3 separate regions of the Homo sapiens genome follow, and all the other regions are linked to region 3. Evidence: promoter capture Hi-C in 16 types of primary human blood cells and fetal thymus (Javierre and others, 2016). All regions are on one chromosome and are shown on one strand. Each heading gives the region's core, a stretch centred on a gene start or on the middle of the fragment in contact. The rest is flanking DNA. Distances are from core to core; before and after follow the strand shown. Region 1 holds the start of GFI1 (growth factor independent 1 transcriptional repressor). Region 2 overlaps RPAP2 (RNA polymerase II associated protein 2). Region 3 holds the start of CDC7 (cell division cycle 7).

The links. The method cuts DNA at HindIII sites, captures the fragments that hold promoters and counts their contacts. A CHiCAGO score of 5 or more calls a contact.
Region 1: a contact is called between the fragment with the promoter of GFI1 here and the fragment with the promoter of CDC7 in region 3, in 3 of 17 cell types (fetal thymus, total CD4 T cells and naive CD8 T cells). The highest score is 8.5, in fetal thymus.
Region 2: a fragment that was not itself captured here is called in contact with the fragment with the promoter of CDC7 in region 3 in 2 of 17 cell types (fetal thymus and total CD4 T cells); the score reaches 6.7 in fetal thymus.

The regions. Positions count from the first base shown.
Region 1 is chr1:92,483,929-92,488,501 of GRCh38, forward strand. It overlaps GFI1 (growth factor independent 1 transcriptional repressor), which reads right to left and starts at 2,997. Exons shown (of 7, transcript NM_005263.5): 1 at 2,798-2,997. RefSeq lists enhancers at 380-980, 1,581-2,181, 2,104-2,253, 3,154-3,203 and silencers at 1,574-1,753, 1,954-2,003, 2,624-2,733, 2,824-3,033. The HindIII fragment of the contact is 3,142 bases long and covers 2,219-4,573 here.
Region 2 is chr1:92,308,209-92,312,964 of GRCh38, forward strand. The region is part of intron 6 of RPAP2 (RNA polymerase II associated protein 2); the gene reads left to right. It also overlaps a transcript of GLMN not described here. Among named protein-coding and RNA genes, the nearest start is that of RPAP2, 12 kb to the left of the region's middle. The HindIII fragment of the contact is 1,151 bases long and covers 2,150-3,300 here.
Region 3 is chr1:91,498,180-91,502,829 of GRCh38, forward strand. CDC7 (cell division cycle 7) reads left to right here and starts at 2,672. Exons shown (of 12, transcript NM_003503.4): 1 at 2,672-2,769; 2 at 3,475-3,652. The coding sequence starts at 3,538. LOC105378856 (a long non-coding RNA gene) reads right to left here and starts at 2,669. Exons shown (of 3, transcript XR_947599.4): 1 at 336-2,669. RefSeq lists an enhancer at 3,314-3,513. The HindIII fragment of the contact is 5,865 bases long and covers 1-3,970 here.

The sequences.
Region 1 (4,573 bases), core at 1,747-4,246, 990 kb after region 3:
ATCGGGTGGGTTACCCCAACTCAGCTACTCATCGCCTGCCTGGCTGTGCTTTACGGCTGGCGAGGGAGGGCGGGGACACGCGGATCGGTTTAGGGGCCGGGGATGCCCAGTGGTCGAGGACCCGGAAGGGGCAAGGAGCCAAGACCTCCAAGAGCCAGCTACCAACTGGAGTGAAAGGACCGGGGGGAGGGGGGAACAGAACACAAGATAAAACTGTGGGGCGGCGGGAGGACAGCAGCAGAGGGATTGGGGACAGCAGAGGCCAGAGAAAGGAGGTGGGAGAGCAAAGGGACAGGAAAGTGAGGGGAACAACAGACGACCAACCCCCGCCCCAGGAGAAACTCGCATCTGGGTGATCCCACTCGCCCCTCACTAGTGCCCCACGTAGGAGAAACTTTGCCCTTGGACTCCCGGCTGCGGCGGGCACCGGTCGAGGCTGCGGCGAGCCATCCCAGACCATGGAGACCTAACCTCGGGAATCAGGTCCCGGGAAAAAAGCACTTTCCGTTCTGCTCACCAAAAAATCTTGTCCTAGGGAGGTGGAGCCCGATCCACGAACGTTGACTGGGAAATGCTAGGTGTCCCGAGTCGGTAGTGCACCGACAATTTAGCAGACAAAAAAGACAGGACGCCAGAGCGCGCAGGCTGCATTAGCAGAGAGCGGGGGTCGGGCCCGGGCCCGGGAGGGAACTAGCTGCCCGGGGCGTCGCTCTCATTAACCCCCAATCAGTTCACCTAATACCAGGTCGAAATCTGAGCGCAGCGGGAGGGCGTGGCTGCGCCTGCCGCTAGGCTCCAGCCGGCTCCGGGGGCGGTACCCCACAGTCGAGGTGGTCTGGAGTAAACGAATCTGCCTTCCTCCCGGGGTGAAGGCGATGGTGACCGGGTTCACACGTGAGCTGCAGTACAGCAGTTCTCCGTGGCCTCGGCTGGTTCAGAAACGAGGGTGCTGGGAACTCTGGGCCGGGGCAGGACCTGCAGTCCTCCGGCTTCGCGCTGTTTCCACTGCCGGACTAGGAGCCCCTCGGCTTCCTAGGCAAGATGCAGGCCACACAGTCTACGTCTGTCCGTTGGCGCTCTCAGCTCAAACGAGTCCTACAGGCCTTGGTCCCTGTAGGGTGCAGGCCCCCTGCTCCAGATCCCCAGCCCCATTGTGTCCCCTTCTCCGGAGGAATGGGAATAGACCTGGGAGAAAAGACGCCTGGGACGTGTCGCGGGGCTCCCGCGAAGTTTCCCGCTACCCAAGCGCCAGAATGCCCCTAGGGGTGAGAGTGCCATCCGCCTCCCTCCGGGGTGGCTCCTAGGGCTAGAGCTTTGTCGCTTCCTGCACTTCTCGTCCGTACAATTAGACGCCACAAACCCCAAACCCAATTCTTTAAACAGCCACGAAACTCGGAAGAAAAGAAAAACGGAGTGGCGTTGTCCCGAGGGTCCCGCTGCAGCTTGGACCCACGTTGGCTGGGAGCGGGACAGATGGGGGCGGGGTAACTGTCAGCGCCGGAGCTGGGTCTGGGCTGGCGCCACCAGAGACCAGGCGGACGCGGAGGCCGCCTCCCCACCCGGGCTGTAAGCCCACGCCTCTCTCGCACCCCGGCCCGCTTTGCTGGTTCCTGTGGGGAGCGACAGAGTTTGGAGGAGATAGGGGCCCCGGGGCCTGGGCCGAGCGCGTGGGAAGGCAACCCCGCGCTGCAGCTGGCGCGGGAGGTGGGGCGGCCCCTCCGCGCGCTCAGGCCTCTCCTCACCGTCCGGGCCCAGGAAGGAGGGAGCCGAGGGCGCTAAGGGGGCGTCCTCCCGAGCGCAGCTGCCGCCGCCTCCCCACCAGATGTTTCCTTCCCTGGTGGATTTGGCTCCCCTGCCGAACCACCAGACCGCCTGCTGCGCGCCCCCAGCTCCAGATTTCCAGTCACACTGCGCGGGTCGCGCCCTAACCCAGCTGCCGGAGCTCTCTGGGCTCCCGCACGGCGGTCCGCAGCAGGTGGGAAACCGCCCGCGCCCTCTGATCGCCCCCGCAGTGCCAGTGCTCTGCGAGTCCCCGCGGCCGCCCCCACCAGGGCAGGAGGCGCAGAACAGGCTCGGCGGACCTACCTGCGGAGTCACGGCGCGGGCACCGCGCTAGGAGAGTTTTCAAACGGAATCTTGCTTTCGGGAGAGACCGCTCTATCTCTCTGACTTAAAAAAAAAAAAAATTCTCCTTCCGAGCTCAGCCCCCAAAACCACAAGCTTCACTTCCTGAGCGTTACTGAGTCGCTCGCATAGCCCTCCCAGACCTGCTCCCAACCCCCGTCGGGCGGCCGGGCGCGCTCCTTTGCGCAAGTGGCCAGGCGGTGGGGGGCCTGGCCTTTCCAGCCCGTCCCGCGCGCCCCTTAGTAGTCCTCCCAGTTCTCTCCCTGTGGGTCGGCAGGGGATGGGGGAAATTGGAGGTCCGGACACTTAGGCACTAGAAATGACTTGAAAGAAAATGAACTATTCTTGGCTCCAGGGAGACTTCCGCAGCGAGAGAAGCCACAGATTGAGGACACAGATTGACTGGCGAGAGAGGGGTGGGGGGCGCCCCGCTCCGAGGACCCTCCCCGCCCCTCAGGCCTCGGTCACCCGCCCCCCCCACCCCCGACCCCGCCGCCTCCTAGGGCTGCACCACCCCCGGGTCGGGACCGTGAATCACCGGCCCGCGGTGCCGCCGGCCTGGAGCCCGGCGAGTGGCCACGGCGTCCGCAGAGCGAAACCTGCCCCGCAGGCCCCGAAATAGCTTGTTGTGGAAACACTTGGGGATAAATACGCCCAACGAGGCTGAAAATACCTTGACACCCAATCCGAGAGGTTTGCTCATTTCCCTTCGGATTTAGGTAATGGTTAAATTTGGAAGAGGTGGGCGAGCGCCGAGCCCCCGGCGGAGAGGGCCCTGGCGGCGCGTCCCGCGGGCGCCCGGCGGGACCGGTGGGCGCACCCTCCCTGCGCGGAGCTCGCCGGCTCTCGACCGGGTCCGCTCAGCCTTCGACTAATTTCCGGTGGTCGGAGCTGCAAAATTAAAGGCCGCGCGGGGGCAGCGCCGGCGGCTGCTAGGCTGACTCCGCCCTGCCGGGGCAAGCCAGGGAGAGCGGGACCTCGCACGCGGGCTCTGCCACCGCCTGAGGTCATACCCAGGCACTGGGTGTTGGCGGGAGCAGTAAAGCGCCATAAAAGCACCACTTGGATGACTATTGCAAAGTAAGCCTTCTTCGCTCGGATTCTATGTTTCATGAGGGTAGGCACTGGATCTTCATCTTTATGTCCTAGGCGGGCTCTTAACAAAAGGCTGTGGACTGAGTAAATGAATGAGTGGGGTTAATTAACTAATTAATTATATTAATAGAACAGGGGGAAAAAACTTAAAACCTAACTCATAGATACATGAACAAATGCAGCAACCTCCAACGCTAGACTGTATGCCATGACCCATAGTGTGTGGCCTGCTGTGTATACTCAAAGCCTACACCCTTTGCTCATTGGAGTGGATGGATGTTGTAGTCATGTTACTTTTCAAAATGAATTGACTTGGATTTTGATCACAACTTCGTGCACAATAGGCCTCCAATGTCAGACATGCACAAGGAGAAGAGAGTGGTGCTCCCCAGTTCTTGCAAAATAACTACCATGTTCTAGGTTAATCTTAAATTGTTATGGGGGGGGAAGCCCTTAAAGCTCTTTTTCTAGAAACAGTTTTTAAATTATTCTTATTTTGCACTGTAAATTTAAAATTTTGCAGGGAATATTTGGTTAGTATAGCAGTGCTTCGAGCATGTATTAATAAATTATACGTTTTGTTAAGCAATGACCTGTGCCCCTATTGTATGCCAGGCGCTGGGCAAATCTTGTCTGCCTAGCTGTCCTCCTTCATTTGCTCAACACATCCCTTCTTTATATATAAATGCAGAGGCAAGCAATTTTGGTCAGAAAGGAAAATTAAGGACATTTTGTTAATATTTTATTTCTTGTGTGCTTTGTCCTGGCCTAAGGTATAAAAATCTCACAGTAGTGCAAAAACAAATCTTTCCCTTATTCCCTTCTCTCCTACTCGATAGCAGAAAAAAACAAATTTTTAGAATAAAATTATAAATGGGACAAAATAAAATTTCTTATCAACCAAGTTCTAGAGAAATGGTTGGACTATTTCCTTTGCATATTAGCAAGTTCAAAGTCAAAATTTCTCGAAAAGGTGCTGTGACTATTTTATAGTTTAGTTGAGTGTTGCTGTTTGAAGTCTCAGAAAACTTGAGGGAGCCCATGAAGGGGGCAGATAAGCACCTTGAGCAGTGAGCAGTATCACCTTAGAATAAATCCCTTTCATTCAGATTTAGTCTAGTCATTTTGCTTTTCATTTGCCCTTCACAGACTCTTGGGATTTCTGAGTTTGAAAAAGAAAACTGAGAACTGGAACAGGGACACGCAGAAAGGAGCAGGTGGGAGGGAGATGGCACTGAATTTCCCTTTATGTCTTTTACATGTTGAACCATGTGTATGTAGTACTAACTCAAATAAATAAATACACATTTAAAAAGTATTTAACAAGTATTCAACACGTTTAAAAAGTATTTAA
Region 2 (4,756 bases), core at 1,475-3,974, 810 kb after region 3:
TCCTGTGTGGTTTAGGATATGGAAAACTTAACACTGTGTGGCCCTTGATAATTGAGTTAAACATAATTAAGACTAAATTGTTCATCATTTCACCACCAGTCTGCCAGCTTCCTTGTTGGGAAAATAAAAGACTCTGGCATTGTTCGACATGACTGGGAAGCTAAGAGTACTTTTTTACTTATCCTTTTTCTCCTTTCTTAATATTTCTGTCACTAGAGCTGCCCAGTACTTCCCCAGTCCTCTGAGAGCAACATGTTTTATTCCCCACTGAAACCAGTGTTTCCTCAAGTTATCCTTAACTTTGCTTCCAAAGATATTTTCTCTACATCTTAAATTTAACCCTTTGTGCCACCCTCATATCTACCTCAACTGCTTCAAAACCATTTACCAAATTACCTTTCCTGCCATCTCTGTTTTCTTCAAGCATAGGTATTGGTCCTTCCTTTAGCTAATTTAAAACAAATCTTCCAGCCTGGTGTAGTGGCTCATGCCTATAATCCCAACACTTTGAGAAGCCAAGGTGGGTGGATCACTTGAGTTTAGGAATTTGAGACCAGCTTAGCCAATATGGTGATACCCTGTCTCTACTAAAAATACAAAAATTAATTGGGTATGGTGGCGGGCACCTGTAATCCCAGCTACTCAGGAGGCTGAGGCAGGAGAATCACTTGAACCTGGGAGGCGGAGGTTGCAGTGAGCCAAGATCGTGCTGCTGAACTCTAGCCTGGGCCACAGAGTGAGATTCTGTCTCAAAAATTAAATAAATAAATAAAATGAAGTAAAACAGGTCTTCCTGTAACCTTTTCCTAAAATCTCACCATCCTCTATTCAGAATGCTCACTGTTTCCCAAAACTTGAAGCCCTTTTACTTTATATTTGCAGTTCTTGAAATTCTACCTTAGCTATATACCCTTCACTACCTCACTAAAAAAGAAAGATGAAAATGTCCTTTGTGCCGGGCGTGGTGGCTTACACCTGTAATCCCAGCACTTTGGGAGGCCGAGGGGGGCAGATCACAAGGTCAAGAGATCGAGACCATCCTGGCCAACATGGTGAAACCCTGTCTCTACTAAAAATACAAAAATTAGCTGGACGTGGTGACACATGCCTGTAGTCTCAGCTACTCAGGAGGCTGAGGTAGGAGAATTGCTTGAACCTGGGAGGCGGAGGTTGCAGTGAGCTGAGATCGTGCCACTGCACTCCAGCCTGGTGACAGAGCAAGACTCCATCTCAAAAAAAAAAAAATGGACTTTGTTTCTCTAATCTAAATGAATCAACTTAATTTACATTTAAATTGTGCAGTAAGTGCTTAGTACCTGGCAGGCTACACACATACACATACACATACACATACACATACACATATACATATACATACACATACACATACACATACACATACACATACACATACACATATACAAGTATAAAACCCAACCTGTGAATTTAACAATCACTGGATGCCAGAACATGAATTAAACAAGTTTGTGTTGACTTTAATGGGGACCTGTCCTATAAATTAGCAAGGTTAGGACATTGCATAATGAGAAACTGTGAGCAAAAGTGAGAAAATAAACTTGTGGGAATGGGTTGGGATATTGAACATTGGCCCACTTGAAATTTGGGAAACGAGAAGATAACAATAGGTAAATAACAAAGGGCCAGGCTGAGTGTGGTAAACCCTCAAGTATTGGGGAGCCATCAAATGTTTTTGAGCAGAATTTATTCTGATATTGGTGTACAAAATGAATTAAAGAAGAATCATAATTAAAAGAGCTAAAAGGGTCCTTAGAGAGATTTAATCCAACCCCTTCATTAAGTGTATTTCTTAAACTAGTGATCCGTATGAGACCAGGATTCTATTTATTATATTCCACTTGATTAGAAGGAAACAGTGAATAATCTATATATATGCATCTGCCTCATTGTATAGCATAACTGTAGCCCTTAATTATATATAACACTTGTCAGTGTATAACCATATCAGTATCTTTTATATCTGGATGCATTTGTGTTACCTTAATTTCCAAATTCTTAGGGGCAGGGATTATGTCCATGCTATTTAATGAATCCACTAGAGGTCACTGTTTTTTCAGACATCTTTTTACCTGTGCCAAGGATCAGAATTCTAGAATTTTGTATTTTTAAAAGCTTGTCTAGCTATTGCACATTTAAGCTCTACAGAAATGTGATATTTTAAAGAATGTCTGTTTACATATGGCATGGGATACAATATCCTGAGTCAGTCTTCCTTTAGGGAGGAAAAAATTGCTTCTTTTAAATGGTGGCATGTAGTATTTAATGCAGAGATATTTTTATTAGCTTACAATGAGTCATGATAAAGAATAAATTGCATCATAATAGTAATTTTAATAATCATAATTTTAAAATAATAATAAATTTTTATGGCCAGGTGTGGTGACTCACGCCCGTAATCCCAGCATTTGGGAGGCCGAGACTGGTGGATCACCTGAGGTCAGGAGTTCAAGATCAGCCTGGCCAACATGACAAAACCCTATCTCTACTAAAAATATAAAAATTAGCCAGGAGTGCTGGAACATGCCTGTAGCCCCAGCTACTTGGGAGGCTGAGTAAGAAGAACCGCTTGAACCTGGGAGGCAGAGGTTGCAGTGAGCCGAGATCACACCATTGCGCTCCAGCCTGGGCAACAGAACGAGACTAAGAATAAATTGTTAAATCCACCCAAAAGATTAGATATCTTATTGAAATGACTTCCAAACTTTCGACCACTATAATAAGTGCATTTTACATTATCTCATATATGCATATAACTAAAACTAAAGCAAAACTTCTGTGAAACAATATTATTCTTACTACATGAAATGCCTCTGATATTTTCTACTCTGTTGCTTTTTTAAAATGCTGGCAGCAACCTACTTAATTGATTGGTCCTGATCTGCAGTTTGAAGAGCGCTGTTTTGTTGGATTTAGCTCACGTTTTTGGTTGTTTTACTGTAGGAAACCTGCTTCTCAACACTAAGTCTCAGTTTCCTCATTTGTAAAAGGAAAAAGTTGCATTCAACTTCCGAGTTCCCTTTGGTTCTAATGATTTACAGTTCTAAGCCAATTGTGTCATTAGTCATTGCTACTATAGAGAAAGTTTTCTACATAAGGAAATATTTATTAAAATGATGAAAATTAAAATTATCTGCTTAAGACTAGAGAAACTTATACTACCTTGTAGAAAGGTCTGTCTCAATAATTTTGAATAAAGTTACTGACTTTAATAATTTGATCTCTTTAGTCTGTAAAAGTGAAGGCTGATAAAATGTAGATCAAAGCTTTTAAATTATGAAGAAAAACCAGGCATGTTTTAGAGCATGTCCTGAACAATTTGAACTTGGCATCACTGAGGATGCCATGACCTTACACACCATTTGGAAACAGAATATTGAATTTGACCTAATTTGGTCTTTCTTACATTATTGTGAAAGCCAGTAAGTACAGGCATATCTTGGAGATATTGCAGGTTTGGTTCCAGACCACCACTATACTAAAGCAATAAAGCAATCATGGATTTTGTTTCCCAGTGTATGCAAAAGTTATGTTTCCACTATACTGTAGTCTTTTAAATGTGCAGTAGCGTTATATCTTTAAAAAATAATGTACATACCTTAATTTTAAAATATTTTATTGCTTAAAGATGCTACTGATCATCTGAGCCTTCAGCAAGTATTAATCTTTTTGCTGGTGAAGGGTCCTGTTTTGATGTGGATGGCTGCTAACTGATCAGGGTGGTGGTGTCTATAGGTTGGGATGGCTGTGGTAATTTGTTGAAATAAGACAACCCCAGGTTTGCTGCACTGATCGACTTCCTTTCACTAAAGATTTCTCTGTAGCATTAGATGCTGTTTGATAGCATTTTACCCACAGCAGAACATCTTTCAAAATTGGAGTCCGGCCAGGAGCAGTGACTTATGCCTGTAATCCCAGCATTGTTGCGGGGCAAGGCAGGAGGATCACTTAAACAAGACATTTGAGACCAGCCTGGGCAACATAGAGGGACCCATCTCTACAAAGTATTTAAAAAATAAAAAATTAGCTGGGTGTGGTGGCACACAACTGTAGTCCTTGTAGCTACTTGGGATGCTGAGACTAGAAGATCACTTGAGCATAGGAGTTCATGGTTGCAGTGAGTTAGATCACACCACTGCACTCCAGCCTTGGCAACAGAGCAAGACCGTGTCTCAAAAAAAAAAAAAAATTGAAGTCAGTCCTCTCAAACTTCATTGCTGCTTATCAGCTAAGTTTATGGAATATTCTAAATCTTGTGTTACCATTTCAACGATGTTGACAGCACCTTCATCAGGAGTAGATTCCATCTCAAGAAACCAGTTTCTTTGCCTATCCATAAGAAGCAGCTGTATATCCGTTCAAGTTGGATTATGAGATTGATGCAATTCAGTCACATCTTCAAGCTCCACTTCTAATTCTTATCTTGCTATTTCCACCATATCCATAGTGACTACCTCTACGGAAGTCTTGAACCCCTCAAAGTCATCCATTAGGGTTACAATCAACTTCTTCCAAGCACTTGTTAATGTTGATATTTTGGCCTCCTCCCATGAATCCCAAATGTTCTTTTTTTTTTTTTCCTTTTTTCTTTTTTTCAGACAGAGTCTCACTCTGTCACCCAGGCTGGAGTGCAGTGGCGCGATCTTGGCTCACTACAACCTCTGCCTCCTCAGTTCAGTGGCGAAATCTCAGCTCACTGCAACCTCTACCTCCCAGGCTC
Region 3 (4,650 bases), core at 1,422-3,921:
CATGTGCTAGGTATTAGGGATGGGATCATTGACAAAGGGGGAAAAAGTACCCATTATAAATTAACTAATACAAGCTAACAATGTCCAGGCCTATGGGACCAAGCACTTTACATGTATTATGTCACTTTATCTAATTTAATCCCTATAGCAAAACCAAGCAAGTATTTTATCCATGTTACATTTTTGAAATAGGAGTGTCACAGATATTGAATAACTTGCCCAAGTTACACGGCTAGTATAAAGTTTATAAACAATTTGACACTGTAGCCACTATTCTATTTGTGCGCCCTACCCCCCAATAAAGACAAGAAACCAAACTAAGAAACAAACCAAACCTCAAGAGTTGTCTCCATTTGTAGATCTTTTGTTCGTCAATAAATTCAATATAGTCTTTCTGTCTCACTCCAAAGCTGCTCTTTCTGAAGGCTCTAATGACTATCTCTGATCAATTCTGTATCCTCACTACTTCTGTGAAGCATTTGCTATAGCTGACCACTTTCTTCTAATTGTAAAACTTTCTGCTCTTGACTTCTATGACATCACCTTCTTACCTCACAGACTACTACTTCTCAGTCTCTTGCTGGTTCTTCCTCCTCCTCTGCTCAACTATGAAATGTTGGAAGTTATCATAGCCCAACTCTCCATCTACAATCTTTGCTTAGATAATATCGTATAGTCCAAGACTAGGTTTCATCTATAAATTCATAACTGCCAAGTTTATTTCTTCACCCTGAACTATACCCCAGACCAATATATTCATCTGTTTCTTTGACATCATCACTTGCATATCTTGGACTTGATTATTGTTAACGACCTCCCGATAATGACCACCAGGAACACAACTATAGCTGAGCAACTTGGATGTATTGCTTGTTTCAGTACGTGAGAATGCACACCATGGGGAACCATGGGATGTCTTAGGAAGAGGGTGTTAAAAAGGACTTGTTATAGAATTTGAGTTTGTGTTAGGAGATTTACGGAAGGGTGCAAGAAAGAGGGACTTTGGCCTGGATTGGAAGCTGTAAGGAAGCAAGGATAATTCTATAATTGGGTATTTTAATAAGTATTATGTAGAAGGAAGGAAGACTAGACTGAGGTTAAAACTATAATTGGTAAAGAAGCAGCAGGCACTCATATTAGCTAGGATAAGGAGATATTTGATCATTTTTATGGCTTGGGCAATGTTGATGTTGTGTCTGTGTTCACATATGATTATAGAGTGATCTTACTTTTGTCTTGATCTATCACGGTCACAACTCTGTCTTGTCTGATGTTCTGTGAAATTGTTTATGTTCAACAGAAGAATACCAATGCTTGGCTGTGATTGCCAGGCCAGCTCAAAGCAACAGCAAACCAAGCTGGTAGTACCAGGCCATCTCCTGGATGTCAAGGTCTGCTTTTCTCTTTCTCGGTATCCACACTAGAATCCTTGATTTACTCTCTTCCACCTCACTCAATCAAAAACCATTACCTCACAGACTTCCCTTCTATGTGGCACTACCACCCACACATATGCTAGCCCAAAACCTAAGATTCACTGTTGATGATGCCCTTTTCTTCATTTTCCATAGCCAATCACCAAATCCCATTGTCTTCTTTCTTTTATTTCTTCCGCCATTGTTCTGGTCCAAACTACCATTATGTTTCTCCTAAACATAAAGTGCATCCTATTTCCTCTGCTTCCACACTTGCCCCTCTACAATCCATTCTCTTCATAACAGATAGATCATATTACTCCCTTGCTTTAAAACTTTCAAATAGCTTCCAATTGTACTCAGAACAAACACTAAACTTCTTACCCTGGCTTTCAAGGACCCTGGTCTGGCTTCTGCCTAACTCTCCACCTTCATCTATCTGGGACTATCTTGCGGCTCACTCACTATGCTTCCCCCACACTGGCCTTTCCTGCCCTGCCCCTGCAACATACCAAGTTCCTCTTTCTCTCTGCATTTGCCCTATCCTTTCTTTGCCAGGACAACAGTCTCCCTACCAGCTCTTTCTCATCCAGGTCTCTTTGAGAGGGCTTCCCTGACCATCTAGATGCCACCTTCCTGGTCAGTATTTCCCTCAAGTAGTAATCAATGCCGGAAAGAATACTGTTCATTTATTCATCCGTTATTGTCATCGCTTCATTGGAATTTAGCTTCCTACAGGGATGGTGTTTATCTTGCTCACTATGATTCCAGCCCCTAGAAAAACCCACCTACCTCATAGCCAAGGGCTCAGTAAATAGTATACACTGCCTTCCTGCCACTGTGCTAATTTCTACTAACACAGCCACAAACAATCAGCAATTACATTTTCTGCTTGTTTTTAACGGGGAAGTAGGGCACTCAACGAAAAGGAAATAAAAGCAGAGTCAAGAAAGTGCCTTTTATCCATGGAGTGCCCAATGTGTTGTGCGGCCGGCCACGTATATAGGGATGTGTCAGCACCTGAGATTTTTCCTTCTCTGAGCTAGCTTCTTTCCTGGAAATCATGCTGGGCCCTTAGCCTTATGGTTCACCCTGTTTTTTAAGATCATCCACGGGCTTCATTCCCGTAACCGCTCTTCTAGCTGGCCAAGGCGGCGGGAAGAAACCCCACCCTCTTGCGCAAACGCCCAGTAGCGGAATCCGCGGGGTCGAGGGCTTTAGTGTGCGCATGTGCAACCAGAGCGGCGGCGGGAAGTGTTGCGCAGGCGCATCCGATCGACTCGGTAGGTGGGGATCTCTTGGAGACGGCGACCCAGGCATCTGGGGAGCCACAGAAGTCGTACTCCCTTAAACCGTGAGTTTCCGACGGTTTGTTCCATGGCGCGGGATTGTGAGGGATTAGGAACGAATTCTGGATCGTGACTTCGGTTTTCTCGCCGTGCAGTTCCTTTTCCCGCCCCCCTTCGGATCCCTCCGACCTGCGGCGGGAAAGTCGCGCGCCTGCGCACTAAGCATCTGGTTCGGTCTCTGGCCCGAGGGAAGCCGGTCCTTCCCGGCTGAGCTCGCGGCCAGCGCTGGCCGGCGGATTCCCATTCATTCACCCTTCTCCTCCTCCGCCCAGTACTCGTGGCCAGGGTCGTATCAGTTCTCCGTCAACTTGCTTGGGGCCTTGGACGAGCCTCCTGGCGCTTCCTGTCAGTGGCGAAAAGGTTTTCTCCCTCAGTTCTTTTCCTGACTTCAAACCGCCCCCGGCGCTCGGCCCCTCCCCCACGCGGTCCCGCTGGCTGTGCCGGACTGGCAGCCTCGCCGTTTCCCACTGCGCCTGCTGCTGCGCGGGTGCCCAAGCCGGGAAATTCTCCCTGCAGCCCCCTGCCGGTGTTTCTGATAGGTGAAAATAAAGCACATGGAATTCCTTAGACAAGGCCACAGTATGCCCTACTGTGGAGGTTTGGACACATCGTGCGTTTGAAAATGTTTGCCCCTTTGGGGGGCAGTAGCATGTTTTTAGTGCGTGGTTTAGCGAGTGATCTAAATTTCTCTAGTGTTCTAATTTTCACAGCTGCTTTGCTCCCCCTGTGGATGTAACCCCTTAGCTGGCATTTTGCATCTCAATTGGCTTGTGATGGAGGCGTCTTTGGGGATTCAGATGGATGAGCCAATGGCTTTTTCTCCCCAGCGTGACCGGTTTCAGGCTGAAGGCTCTTTAAAAAAAAACGAGCAGAATTTTAAACTTGCAGGTACGTGTTTAAATCCAAAGATGTACAGTTATAAAGATTTTTCAGGCAACAATTCTGTGTTTTCAATTCCTCTCAAAAAATAAGATTGAATCTTATAAAGTGAATTGTATGTTTCTATAGGACAGTGTTAAAACAGAGCTTCGTATGATCTAAATGTAGGACTGAATTGCGATTTGGAAGACTGTAATACAACCTGTTTTACGGTTGAAGTTGCTATGGTCTCAGTATTGGTAATTAAGAATGCAGAAATTTGATGATGCCCAAATTAAATTTCTCTTTTGTATCTGTGTTCTTATCTCTACTCACCACATTGCCTTAAGCTTAAATGTAGAAATTGACACTGGAGATCATCACTTAAGTATTCAAAAGCAGAACTCACAGACAAAAAAATATGAAATGTTTGTAGCAATAATAAAGCACCATATCTCAGTGTACAGCATGAAATGTTCTTTGACCGTAAACCAGACCTTAGGGTGAATAAGACAGGGTCAAGCAGTGCCTGCTCTTGTACACTCGCATGTGTACCTTCATTTCTGCTCTGGCACAGGACCTGGGACATAGTAGGTATTTGTTAATAATAAATATTTGTTAAATAGAGGAATTCTAGTTGACTGTATTTTTTTTTTTCTGAAAGGGTAGCCAGATCATCTTTCCCATCTTTGTCTTAAGTGAATTCTGTGCTTGTCTAAAAGATACTTATTTTGACCTTTTGTCCATATATTCTTTATAACCCCACCCTAGAAAAATATGACATCACATACTTTCTGCTTTGATGGAAGTCAGTTATCCCACTTACCTAAACTTGAAACTTTAATCTTCAGCTGATGCTTTTTATTTGTTCCCCATATCGTCACCTAGCTTTATTTCTTTTTAGTAAGTATGGCATTGTGTCTTCTTTCCATTCCCATTTCCACCACATTAATTAATTTCCTTACACTTTGTTCCTGATTTACAACAGTTTCTCACCTATGCTGCCTGCTTGCACTTTTCCATTCTTC